Regions from separate parts of the Homo sapiens genome. Here region 2 is linked to region 1. Evidence: promoter capture Hi-C in 16 types of primary human blood cells and fetal thymus (Javierre and others, 2016). All regions are on one chromosome and are shown on one strand. Each heading gives the region's core, a stretch centred on a gene start or on the middle of the fragment in contact. The rest is flanking DNA. Distances are from core to core; before and after follow the strand shown. Region 1 holds the start of OR6C68 (olfactory receptor family 6 subfamily C member 68). Region 2 has its middle 19 kb from the start of MUCL1.

Region 1 (7,338 bases), core at 3,238-5,737:
AGGAAGAATTCTGGATGAATCAGTCTGGTTTCACGATGTTATAATGCTCTATGGTTTCCTGCATTCTTCTCTGATAGTGCTCTTTGCTATTACTTGACTGTACAAAATATTACATGCTGGGAAAAAATGATAAATAAACTAAAGACTCCCATGTTATCTTGACAATATATCCCCATTCACTTATCATTTATGAGCCAAGTCATTACAGAAGCAAAGCTGAAGATATTTTTAAGTCAGATTCAGAAATGAATCTGAGGACTTGTGACATGACATCCAGCTCTTTTCCAGTGCTTTATTCAAACCTCTCATTAGTAACTGTCTTAGACTTGATCATGAACTGGAGACAATTCAAATCAGTGGCCAGGTGTAGGGAAGCACCTTTAATCTGCCTTGTGTCTCCAGAATGGATCCCTCCTACTCTGTTGTAAACTGGAGTCAATCTTTACTAGTTGTAGCAGGGGATGCATCATGAAAATTATTTACTGTGGTACAGTGCCCGAGTAATAAATCCTATTGTTGAGTCCCATATCCCATATTATTTCTTACTAGAGTTCTTTATTCTAGACTTGCTTTCATTAATTTTAACTTGCAATATACAAAATTGACTTTTTCAAGCTTGCAAGGCTGCAGATTACTGATTTACAGGAATTCTGAGAAATAATTTAGTATCTTTTCTTTTTTCTGTGTGAGTCAGTTTCAAGTAAGCTTTATTTTTCTCTATTATATGACCATTTTGATGGCTATAGAAAGCTACTTAGAGTCAACCACCCTAAAATTTTTCCACTGTGTCCCCTAATCCTGTAGTTTTGCTAGACACAAATCCTGCATTCTCAACACAAGCCTGGTGGCAGTTTAACCAATTTGTTCACTACAGTATAAGAAATTTTTCCTTTCTTACATTGGTTTGTACAATTACAATTTTTAGATCTGTCACCTCTTTCTGCTACTCTTGGTAGCAATTTCTCATATCTTTTACTGGCAAGTTACCAAAAAAACCTATGTTGGTGTAAGAAATACATCAATATACATACAAATACTCCAAATAATTTATTGACTGAGTTCATATAACTTGTGGAATTAACCTTTCTCATAGTTTGATCCAGAGGTCCATGAGGCAATAAGGGTACTGTTTCCATCTCTGTGTGACTCACTGAGCTACGTGCTCTAACCTTATCTGTGTGCTGGCCTGGTACTCAGGGTAGTTCCTTCGCTGATAGAAACTGTAACCATAGCAGTGTTAGACGTTACTTTTTCACACCATATCGGAGAAAGAATGTACGATGTATCAGACTTCCAGAAGAAGTCTTGATTAACTCTGATTGGCCTGATTTAGATCACAACCCTGAATTAAAAACACTGTGGATTGGTTAATAGAATGCAATAATTAACTTTTGGGGGGTTTTGAGGTTCTCCACTGAAATTAGGAATGGAAACAACTTTCCTGAAACATTCAATTTGATTAAGTTGTTCACTGGGTGTTTTACCTTCAACCCCAAAGATTAATGTAGGCTGAGAAACAAAGCAAGAGGCATTTGTCAAATATTACCAATAGAAACAAATGACATGGGCTTAGAGAACAGGTGAATATTCTTGAATTTTATGTCACTCACTATTATCCCAAGATGAATGGTGTCAACTGTACAGTGTGTTTTTACATTTCATTTCTATTTACACAGAATAATTTATTCACATATTCAAACTTTCATACGGGCAATCATTCATTCATTCATTTATCAAATATGTTCTGTGCATTGTGCAGCAAGATTATTGTATTTGGTGCTCGTGGTGTGGGAAAGGGATGACTAAAACATGTATTATCTATCTTTATGCATTTATGATCAACATAGGATTTTATTTTTCCTAAATGGCATAATGATGTATGTATTATCTTGCAAATAGTTTAAAATTTTTTTTTTGTTTTTTTTGAGTTGCAGTCTCGCTCTGTCGCCCAGGCTGGAGTGCAGTGGCATCATCTCAGCTCACTGCAAGCTCTGCCTCCTGGGTTCATGCCATTCTCCTGCCTCAGCCTCCCTAGTAGCTGGGACTACAGGTGCCCACCACCTCGCCCAGCTAATTTTTTGTATTTTTAGTAGAGACGGGGTTTCACCGTGTTAGCCAGGATGGTCTTGATCTCCTGACCTCGTGATCGGCCCGCCTCGGCCTCCCAAAGTGCTGGGATTATAGGCGTGAGCCACCGCGCCCAGCCAGTTTTTAAAAATTTTAATATCCTTCCATTATAAGATCAAGTTCTATATCATTTGATAAGTACTACATCTTATGCTGTAATTCCCTAATTGACTTACACATTGCCAAGTGATGTTCATTTGGTTATTTTCAATCTTTTACTATTACAAAATGACTGCAATGAGTATAATAATTGGCAAGTAGATTCTGGCATAAATCCCTAGATGTTGATTTCTAGATGAAATCTTATATGTACTGTTAGTAAATATAAATTCCAATGTTTTCAAGTAAATTGTGCATTGAGGTGTATGTTTTACTTTAAGTGTTAGCATACTGGCTAATATTGAACATACGAAAAATTTAGTTTGTGCAAATATGATGGGTGAAATGTATATCATGACTTTAATGTTTAAATCTGTGGCTAATAATGAAGTTGTGCATCCCTTCCTATTGCTATAGGTAATTTTATTTTTTAGTAAAATAAATATCTAATATTTTCTTGGTATTTATAGTAAATTTGTTGCCTTTTTTGATTCATAGAAACTTCCTACATATTTATTATATTAAGCCTTTCATGTTAACTGTACCATAAAGCTATTCTTTTACTTATGTTTTCTCTTTAATATTTTTCATGAAATTTTCTCTTTTTGCTGTAGATATTTTAAAGTTTGTTACTTAAATCTGACTTTTTTTCAGTGAGGCAAGGAATTTGTATCTTGATTAAGAGTGAATTCTCATAGACCAGGTGCAGTGGCTCACGCCTGTAATCCCAGCACCTTTGGGAGGCCGAGGTGGGTGGATCACTTGAGACCAGGAGTTTGAGATTAGCCTGGCCAACATGGTGCAACCCTGTCTATACTAAAAATACAAAAATTAGGTGGGCGTGGTGGCGCATGCTCTTAGTTCCAGTTACTTGGGAGGCTGAATCATGAGAATTGCTTGAACCTGGAAGTTGGAGGTTGCAGTGAGCCAAGATGGCACCATCGCACTCCAGCCTGGACAACAGAGTGGGAATCTATCTCCAGGGGAGAAAAAAAAAAAAAAAAAAAGAATGACTACTCATAGAAGTTGGGAAAAAAATAACTTCACACCCATATTTTAAAATTATCAGAGAAAATCAACTGGAAAGAAGGAAAAAAGAGTGGTTTAATCTGGTTAAGGATTAAAAGTGATATATTTTGTCTATCATAGAATATTATTCAATAATTAATTTCTCAGTACGTAAATTAATAAAAAATTAATGATTAAATGGCTATGCAGTCAACTTGATTGCTCTATAGACTAAGAAATTACAAAGTTGGTTATTGGCTTTATGAAAAATATGAAGCAGATCTTTTATATTGATTTATCAACTTAGGTACACTTTACTTTTTTAAACGAAATGCAATTTTTTTGAGTGAGTCATGAAAGGCTTGTTTAACTTGCTCATTCCTAAGAGTATATATGAAAGAATTCAACATAGGTGATATGGATGAAATAAGCACTGACACACCTTTATTAATGTTTACCTCTTCTTTTGCAGATGGCTTGATATAGATGAAGATGCAGCTGCCATAAGTGATGGAAACCACAGTAATATGTGAAGAACAGGTAGAAAAGGCTTTTTTCTTTTGTTGAACAGAAGGGAATTTTAGAATTGTTCTTATGATATATGTGTAGGACAGAACTACACATACAAGAGTGATAATAAAGGTTAATACAGCAGAGGCTACAACCATCTGCTCAATTAATGATGTGTCTGAGCATGGTATTTTCAGAATAGGCAATGCATCACAGCCAAAATGATTGATGACATTAGAGTCACAGAATTCTAGATGAAAACCTAAGCTAAGTGGTGGGAGGATAATCATAAGTGCTGCCATCCAACAACAAATAACCATTGTTTTGCACACTTTGTTGCTCATGATTGCCATATAATGCAAGGGTTTGCAGATGGCCACATAGCGATCATATGACATGGTAGCCAAAAGAAAAAATTCAGTTACCCCAAAGAGGTCTGCAAAAAATAGCTGAATGACACATGCATTATACGTTATTATTTTGTTCCCAGTTGAGATACTGTATAAGAATCTTGGAACACAGGTAGCTGTAAATGAGATTTCTAAGAAAGATAAATTTTGGAGAAAAAAATACATGGGTGTTTTCAGGTGGGGATCCAACATGGTGAGGGCGATAATGGTCAGTTTCCCTGTTACACTCAACATGTAGGTGATAAATAGAAACATGAAAAGCAGAACCTGCAGCTGAGGATCTTCTGTCAGTCCCAGAAGGATGAATGTTGTTATTGCTGTGTGTTTTCTCATTACTGACTTCTGCATTTTTCCAAAACTACATGTAAATGTCAGAGAAATTTGAACTGCAGCATTCAATAAAAAAAGCAGCTAATGATGAACACTCTCATGCATGTTTCATTTATCCAACATCATAGGTTTTACTTGTTGATCTGCAGAAGTTTATAGTGAGAATATAAATAACATATATGTACATGTTTTAGTACGTTGAGCTCCCTTGATCTATTTATACAAAATGGCCAAATAAGATTATTTTATAAATTTTAGTCAACGAACTATAGAATAACTTTTCTTTATTAATCTTCTATAGTAATTAATTTATAGTGTATTAAACATTTTAACTCATTCTGAGTTGTGCCTTTTTATTGGATTGCATTATTTTTTGAAATATGACTGTTTTTTATGCTGCCAAATGTTTTTCTGCAACTCATAAGCTACATTAAAATAATTCGCTTTAGTTTCATCTCTGTTTTAAAATTTGGGAATTGTAAAACCCTAAAATAAAACATACATCAGGTTCCAAACAAAACATTTCAATTCCCTCTAAGATGTATATTTATTTGCTTTTTGACTGCTTTTTAATTGTTGGTTATTCATTTTAAGAGAAAACCATCTTTTGACCCTAAGGCATCCACGTTTATAATTTTACATATCTCTTCTAAGCTTCATTATCTAAATCTTATATCTACTCCCTGGATAGTGCTGTGTAGTATAATATGATTATTTTTCAGTGCCCTTTTATCACAGTGCAAGACAGTTTTGATTATAATAAATGAACTGCTGAAAAATATAAAAACTATGTCTTCCTGCGTTCAGTTAGCTACTCAGATTAGAACAAGTTATACAACATGGATAAAAGTCAAGACAAAAATTGCTGAATATCCTCGCCATGACACAATATTCTCTCCTTTTTCATTTCCTTCAGATCTACATTCTTTGACTCTATTTCCACAGTACGCATTCGTTTCTCAATCTGTTACTCTCTTATTTTTCACCTCACCAGATTTTTAAAAGTGCTTAATCAGTTAACTTCCTGTGACTTAACCCAGTATAATCATAATATGACAAACACAAATCTCTTGCTATGCTTCAGGCAAATCTCTTGCTATGCTTCTCTTTTAAGTATATTACATATATAATTAATATAATCCTTAGGACAACCTGTGAAGTAGGGAGGTATATTATCTCCACTTAAAAAATGAAAAAGCTGATCGACAAAGAGGTAAAGTATGTGGCCATTGTTTCAGGATAGTAAGTGGCTAGAGAAACCCCAGAGTCCCAGTTCTTTAATCACTGCGCTGTGTTTGTGGTGAACACTTTACCTGAATGTTTTAATTTCATGAAGATAATATTCTGTCTATTGGTAATTGAAACAAAGCTGGGGTTACTACATAGTTTATTATCTAAACCAAGATACTTGAGAAGCACAGCGGGGGCAGTTAATAATTACGTTGATACAACTGGTGTAAACAGGGCTATCAAGAGCAAAAACTAAATGTGTGCCATTCTCTATACAATTACTTACTCCTTGATTCAGGTGTAATATTAGGGCTAATGGAGATTAAACTTTGCCAAAGTGCAACTGGCTAATTTTCCCCATCTTATTGTTTATTTCTTTTAGTATATTGATCCCTCAATGTTTCCTCAATATTTCTTTCAGTGAAATAATAAGACTGAAGACTAGGGACTCTGTTATTCTGGGCTAAGTTCAATAGCTAGGTAGAAGTTGCTGTTGTGTATTCTCAATCATATTGTTAGATATTCACAGGTTTCTAATTTGTAAGTAATGTCTTAAGAGCTTCAAATTTTCTTACCTTTATTAAATGCAAGAGAGATATAAAATAAGGCATTTTCTTATGGTTTTAGAATATTTCCCTCAAAAAGCCCTAATGCATCTACTACAAGAGCTTTAAACAATCAGTGTTTTTCCCTTTTTTGTCTAATCAAGTAAGCACTGTCTTCTGCTAGTATACACCCAATATACTGAGCAAAATCTCCATGGTAGAGGAACACCATCACAGGGCATGCATCTTAATCTAGGCTCAGGGTAGATAAAGCTTGCTAGGAAGCTAATACCCTTTTGAGAGAACATTATAATCAGAAGATGACTCTGTAACTCACACTTAGAACCTCTGTCCTGTTTTCTTCTTTTTCACTATTTCAATTTACCATCCAGTAGTTCTCTTGGTATTGGATTCAGCTTTGTTTGGGTCTTAAGACTATCTTTCATTTTTGATATTTTGCTTTCCCTGAATCCAGTCTTGCATAAATATTAAATATTTAACAATATCATCATATTCATATTGACTCAATACTGCTTTGCATATTTATTTATTTATTTATTATTTTTTATTTTATTTTATTTTTTATTATACTTTAAGTTTTAGGGTACATGTGCACATTGTGCAGGTTAGTTACATATGTATACATGTGCCATGCTGGTGCGCTGCACCCACTAACTCGTCATCTAGCATTACGTATATCTCCCAATGCTATCCCTCCCCCCTCCCCCGACCCCACTGCAGTCCCCAGAGTGTGATATTCCCCTTCCTGTGTCCATGTGATCTCACTGTTCAATTCCCACCTATGAGTGAGAATATGCGGTGTTTGGTTTTTTGTTCTTGCGATAGTTTACTGAGAATGATGATTTCCAATTTCATCCATGTCCCTACAAAGGACATGAACTCATCATTTTTTATGGCTGCATAGTATTCCATGGTGTATATGTGCCACATTTTCTTAATCCAGTCTATCATTGTTGGACATTTGGGTTGGTTCCAAGTCTTTGCTATTGTGAATAATGCCACAATAAACATACGTGTGCATGTGTCTTTATAGCAGCATGATTTATAGTCCTTTGGGT
Region 2 (7,338 bases), core at 2,120-4,619, 660 kb after region 1:
TACTAAAATTAAAAATAAATTTAAAAATAATTAGGAGAAATAGTCTACCCAAGTGAGAAGGAACTAGAAAAATAATTCTGGCAATATGACAAAACAGTGTTCTATAACCCATCCAGAAGATCACATTACCTCTCCAGCAATGAATCCAAACCAATATGAAATCTTTGAGATGCCAGATAAAGAATTCAAAATGTTGATTATGAAGCCACTCAAGGAGTTACAAGAGAAAGGTGAAACCCAACATAAAGAAATTTAAAAAACAATTCAGGATAATAATGAAAAATTTTCTAAAGAGATAGATATCTTAAAGAAAAACGAATCAGAACTTCTGGAAATGAAAGACACATTTAGGGAATTACAAAGTGCAATGGAAAGTTTTAACAATAGACTAGACCAAGAAGAATTTTGGAACTCAAAGACAAGCCTTTTGAATTAACTCAATCAGAAAAAATAAAGAAAAAAAATAAAAGAAATGAACAAGAGCTCCAAGAAATATGGGATTATGTAAAACAGCCAAACCTAAGAATCATTTGTGCTCCTGAGGGAGAAGAAAAAGCAAAAAGTTTCAAAAACTTATTTGAGAGAATAATTGAGGAAAGCTTCCCTGGCCTTGCTAAAGATTTAGACACACAAATATAAGAAGCTCAAAGAACACCTGTGGGATTCATGACAAAAAGACATTACCAAGACATATAGTCATCAGGCCATCTAAAGTCAATGTGAAGGAAGATATTCTAAGAGCAGTGAGACAAAAGCATCAGATAACCCATAAAGGAAAACATATCAAACTAACAGCAGACTTCTCAGCAGAATCCTTACAAACCAGAAAGGATTAGGGTCCTATCTCTAGCCTCCTTAAATGATATAACTGTTAGCAAAGAATTCTGTATCAAGCAAAACTAAGTTTTATAAATGGAGAGAAATAGTCTTTTTCAGACAAGCAAATGCTGAGGGAGTTTGTCACTACCAGACCAGTCCTACAAGAAATGCTAAAAGGAGTTCCCAATCCTGAAACAAAAGATGGATATGCACCAGAATAGAACCACTTGAAGCATAAAACTCACAGAGCCTATAAAACAATAATGCAATGAAGATAGCAAAGTATCAAGGTAACAATCAATATGATGACTGAAACTACTACTTCATGTCTCAATGTTAAATATGTATATGAATGTAACTGAATGTAAATGGTCTAAATGCTCCACTTAAAAGATACAAATTGGCAGAACGTATTAAAAAATCACAAACCAAATATCTTCTGTTTTCAAGAGATTCACCTAAAATATAAGCATTGATTTTTTTTGTTTTTGTTTTTGTTTTTTTGGAGACGGAGTCTCACTCTGTCACCCAGGCTGGAGTGCAGTGGCATGATCTCAGCTCACTGCAAGCTCCGCCTCCTGGGTTCACGCCATTCTCCTGCCTCAGCCTCCCGAGTAGCTGGGACTACGGGCACCCACCACCACGCCCGGCTAATTTTTTGTATTTTTTTTTAGTAGAGACAGGTTTTCTCCATGTTAGTCAGGATGGTCTCAATCTCCTGACCTTGTGGTCTGCCTGCCTTGGCCTCCCAAAGTACTGGGATTACAGGCATGAGCCACCACACCCAGCCCATAAGGATTCTTATAGACTTGAGGTAAAGGGGTGGAAAACGATATTCCACACAAATGGAAACCAAAAGCAAGCAGGAGTAGCTATTCTTATATCAGATAAAACAGGTTTTAAAGCAACAACAGTAAAAACATAAAAACCCAAAAAAAGTCATTATATAATGGGAAAAGGATCAATCCAACAAGAAAACATTACAATCCTCAATATATTGCACCTAACTCTGGAGCTCCTAGATTCATAAAACAATTACTACTAAACCTAATAAAAGAAATAGACAGCAGCACAATAGTAGTTGGGGACTTCAACTCTCTACTGACAGCACTAGATAGACCATTGAGGCAGAAAGTCAACAAAGAAACACTGGACTTAAACTGCACTCTAGAAAAAATTGACCTGACAAATATTTACAGAACATTCTACTCAAGAACTGCAGAATATACATTCTTCTCCTCAGTGCATGAAATATTCTCCAAGATAGACCATATAATAAGAGATAAAACAAGTCAATATATTTTAAAAAATTGAAATTATATCAAGTGTTTTCTCAGACCACAGTGGAATTAAACTAAAAATAAACTCCAAAAAGAACCCTCAAAACTATACAAATACATGGAAATTAAATAATTTGCTCCTGAATGATTTTGAGGTTAACAATGAAATCAAGATGAAAATTCAAAAATTCTTCAAAATGAATGATAATAGTTGCACAAGTTATCAAAACCTCTGGCATATAGCAAAAGCAGTGCTAAGAGGAAAGTTTACAATTCTAAATGCCTACATTAAAAAGTTCAAAAGATCACAAGTTGACAACCTAACATCACACTGCAAGAAACTAAAGAAACAAAGACAAACCAAACCCAAAACTAGCAGAAGAAAAGAAATAATAAAGATCAGAACAGAACTGAATGAAATTGAAACAAATACAAAAAAGATCAATGAAACAAAAAGTTGTTTCTTTGACAAGATAAACACAATTGGAAAACCATTAGCTAGATTAACCAAGAAAAGAGAGAAGATTCAAATAAGCTCAGACATGAAAATTGAGACATTACAACCAATAACACAGAAATACAAAAGATAATTCAAGATTACTATAACACCTCTATGTACACAACTAGAAAATCTAGAGGAAATGAATAAATTTCTAGAAACATACAACCCTCCTAATTTGAATCAGGAAGAAATAGAAATCCTGAACAAACCAATAACAAACAAGCAATTAGACTGAATTAGTAATTTAAAAGTTGCCAGCAACAACTACAAAAAAGCCCACAGCCAGGTAGATTCACAGCCAAAGTCTACCAGACCTTCAAAGAAAAATTGACAGCAATCTTACTGAAACTATTCCAAAAGGTTGAGAAAGAGGCAATCCTCCCTAACTCATTCTGTGAAACCAGTATGCCCTGATACCAAAGCATGAAGAGGACATAACAACAAAAAAAGAAAACTACAGACCAATATTCCTGATGAACACAGATGCAAAAGTCCTCAACAAAATAATAGCAACCCAAATCCAACAGCTCGTCAAAAAGATAATTCATCATGATCAAGCGGGTTTCATCCCAGGGATGCAGGGATGGTTCCACATATGCAAATTAATAAATGTGGCAGAATTTATAAATAGGCAGAATTTAAAACAAAAATCACATGATCATCTCAACGGACACAGAAAAAGCATTCAATCAAATCCATTGCCCCTTTATGGTAGAAACCCTCAACAAACTAGACATAGAAAGAACATACTTCAAAATAATAAAAGCCATATATGACAAATCCACAGTCAGCATCATACTGAACGGGGAAAAGTTGAAAGCATTCCCACGAAGACCTGGAACAAGACAAGGAGCTCAAACAAATCAGCCAGAAAAAAAAAAAAAACAATCCCATCAAAAAGTGGACACGTGACACGAATAGACACTTCTCAAAAGAAGATATACAAATGGCCAATAAATATATGAAAAAAATACTCAACATTGCTAATCATCAGGGAAATGCAAATTAAAACTACAATGAGACACCATCTTAACCCAGCCAAAATGGCCATTATTAAAAAGTCAAAAAAACAGTAGATGTTGGTGTAGAGGTGGTGAAAAGGGGATGCTTACACACTGCTGATGGGAATGTAAATTAGTACAACCTCTATGGAAAACAGTATGGAGAGTTCTCAAAGAACAAAAAGTAGATCTACTGTTTGATCCAGCAATCCCACTACTGGCTATCTACCTAAAGGAAAATAAGTCATTATATCAAAAAGACACATACGTGTATATGTTTATCATAGCAGAATTCAACATTGCAAAAATATGGAGCCAATATAAGTGCCCATCAACGAATGAGTGAATAAAGAAAAGGTGGTATATGTACACCATGGAATACTACTCAGCCATAAAAGAGAATGAAATAGTGTTTTTTGCAGCAACTAGCAACTTGGATGGAGCTGGAAGCCATTATTCTAAGTGAAGTAACTCAGGAATGGAAAACAAAATACCGTATGTTCTCACTTATAACTGGAAGCTAAACTATCTGTATGCAAAGGCATACAGAGTGGCATAATGGATATTGGAAACTCAGAATGGAGGAGAGTGGAAGGAAGGTGAGGAATAAAAACCTACATATTGGATACAATGTACACTGCTCGGGTGACAGGTGCACTAAAATCTCAGACTTCTCCACTCTACAATTCATCCATATAACCAAAAACCACTTTTACCCCCAAAATTATTGAAATAAAAAATATATATATTTATTTTTAGTATATAAAATTTCAATCATGTAGGATGAATAAATTCTAGAGATACACAGTTAGTTCATTATGATTAATGATACTGTATTCTATACTTAAAATTTGCTAAGAGAGTGGATTTTAAGTATTCTCACCACAAAAAATAGTAACTATGTAAAGAGAATGTTATGCTAATTAGTTGGATTGTGGTAACAACTTCACTGTGTATATCAAAACATTACATTGTTTACCTTAAATATACAAAACTTTAAAGATAAATTTTAAAAATAAAATACAATAAAATTGCACCAGTGAAAGAGTATGGCTTGTGATGAGGATTTACAATTAGACGATGAAAAGAAGAGAGAGACCAGAAGGTAATTCACAAATATACAGTGACTGATTGAATTTTAAAATAAAGTGAAGAAAAGGTAGTTTAAAAATGCTGATAGGTAAATTCAAGATTCATATAAAAGGCAAAAAATACTCAACTTCACTCAATACACTAAAATAAATTCCAAATAGTTTATTATGTAGAGAATATATCTAAATAATAAGTGTAACAGTAAACCTTCTAAAAGAGAATATAGAAAAATAAGTTCATGAAGTTCACGCAAATATGTCTTATATAGAACAAAATCAAAGCACTAACCCTGAAGAGATAGGTTAATGAATTAAACTACAATGAATATAAAAGCTCTTACATCCAAATCACTATTCAAGCCACGCATTCAGAGGGTATAGTTATAATGCATGTAATTAACAAACGACTGTTAAGTAGACTTTTTTTTATTATACTTTAAGTTTTAGGGTACATGTGCACAATGTGCGGGTTTGTTACATATGTATACATGTGCCATGTTGGTGTGCTGCACCCATTAACTCATCATTTAGCATTAGGTATATTTCCTAATGCTATCCCTCCCCCCTCCCCCAACCCCACAACAGTCCCCAGAGTGTGATGTTCCCCTTCCTGTGTTCATGTGTTCTCATTGTTCAATTCCCCTCTATGAGTGAGAACATGCGGTGTTTGGTTTTTTGTCCTTGCAATAGTTTGCTGAGAATGATGGTTTCCAGCTTCATCCATGTCCCTATAAAGGACATGAACTCATCATTTTTTATGGCTGCATAGTATTCCATGGTGTATAAATTCCTTAGAAAAAGATAATCCAATATAACCATTGGGGAAAAGTTTTGAATAAGACTTCAGAAAAGGGGATATCTTTATGACCAATAAATTTATGAAAATGTGCTCTAATTTGTTTGACATAAGGAAAAAAATTAAAACAATTAGATAGCACTAGGCATCATCAGATGGGTTGAAATTTTATGAACTGAAAATACCAAGTATTGGAAAGGTGTATATAACTGTAAAGATATGTGGATCTCATCTATACAAAAAACTAGAAAATATTATTGAAACTAAATAAAAGGAAAAATAAACTGAGAAATAAAACATTTGCATAGATTAGAAAATTCCAGTTCTCCTCATATAATTCTATATATTCGATGCAAAACTCAACAAAATTTCAAAAGGTTGGATGTGTGTGTGTAGGTAAATATGAATGCATGCACAACAGAATATGCTTTATTAAAACATACATAAAAAGCCAAGGAAAAAGGACCTAGAATGGACAGGACAGCTCTAAGGAAAGTCAAATGAGCAACTCTTACTCTTCTAGATATCAAAAATTAATATAAAGTTACAGTAACGAATAGTGCTGTACTGGTACAGGAATTTAAAAAGAAAAACATAATATAAATCCAGGTTAAAGATCTGATGATAATTCATTTAATAAGGAAGCTTGGTTATTTTGTGACATACAAAGTTTAAAATAATAACTCAAATTATAGCTGATCACTTTATACCAGGACATACAAAATTTCTAGAAATTTTATATGATTTCTTGAAAATAGCATTTTACCTATACAAATGTAACCTAGGGAAGGTTAAGCATCACTTCTTATTTGACACATTTCCATTCAGCTTAACATATCAAATAATATAAATTATTTTTACCAGATTCCTTTGCAAAATGAAAGAAAAATTCTCTTGGGTATTTTCCAGGGGCCGTCTGTGATGTCTCAGTCAGTTTTAGGTCAAAAAGACCTCATAAAGCATCCGATTGTTAGAGATTGTCAAAAATGTCAAAAGGTTTAAATAGACGAGTAAGTAGGATCACAGGCCACCATGAAACAACAGTTATCCGTTTAACCAAAGTGACAATAAAAGATTTTAAAGGCAAATACAGAAGCTTACATAGTTGTAAACAAAACCCTTAGCTCTTTTAATATTGTGAAGACTCTTAAGTAATCAAAGACATGATAAAGACAACATAAAACAGAGGAAATTATTCAGAAAAGACACAAAACATTGGTTTCCCAGGCAGATTATGCAAAAGTTAAAGAAAAGCCTTTCACAATCTCTTATTAAGAGCAAACCAATAATCCCCCCACCCAAAATTTGTCTTTTTAACAGAAAGAAAGCCATATTCTAGCTTTGCATTAGTGTACTTTTGATGTTAAGGCTCATATTTTTAAATGTGTAAACAAAGGAATTCAAATCTTAGCCAGCTTGACTACACATAAATTTCATTTTCCACAAGCCTTCTGCAACTTCCTATATCCTTTAGTTTTTGCTCTATATTTTTCTTATTCCTCATTCTGGAACAACTAGTCATCTAACTTTAGGATAAAATTACTCTCTTTTTCCCTTAACAAAAACACATCCTTCATACTCGTATATTTCCTATCAAAGATATATCCTATTTTCCCTGAAAACTTTTGATGAAGAATTGTTTTCCTAATTATTTTCACATATTAATTGTAATGTTTAACCATTAGTAAGGTTTCTTTTATAGAGAAAATTAGGAGGTAGATAATTGTGAAATGTCTTTGTTACATGGCAGCATTCTGTAGCAAGCTTGCAAAAGTGATGAATATACCATTTCACAATTTTAGAGGCATATGCTTCCTCATAGTATAATTTTTCAATGTGACAAAAATTA

The links. Contacts are between HindIII fragments. The CHiCAGO score rates a contact against its expected background, and 5 or more counts as called.
Region 2: a fragment that was not itself captured here is called in contact with the fragment with the promoter of OR6C68 in region 1 in 1 of 17 cell types (M2 macrophages); the score reaches 5.6 in M2 macrophages.

What each region holds. Positions count from the first base shown.
Region 1 is chr12:55,489,527-55,496,864 of GRCh38, reverse strand. OR6C68 (olfactory receptor family 6 subfamily C member 68) reads right to left here and starts at 4,487. Exons shown (of 1, transcript NM_001005519.2): 1 at 3,549-4,487. The coding sequence starts at 4,487. The coding sequence ends at 3,549. The HindIII fragment of the contact is 4,433 bases long and covers 708-5,140 here.
Region 2 is chr12:54,831,755-54,839,092 of GRCh38, reverse strand. It overlaps a transcript of MUCL1 not described here. Among named protein-coding and RNA genes, the nearest start is that of MUCL1, 19 kb to the left of the region's middle. The HindIII fragment of the contact is 5,535 bases long and covers 602-6,136 here.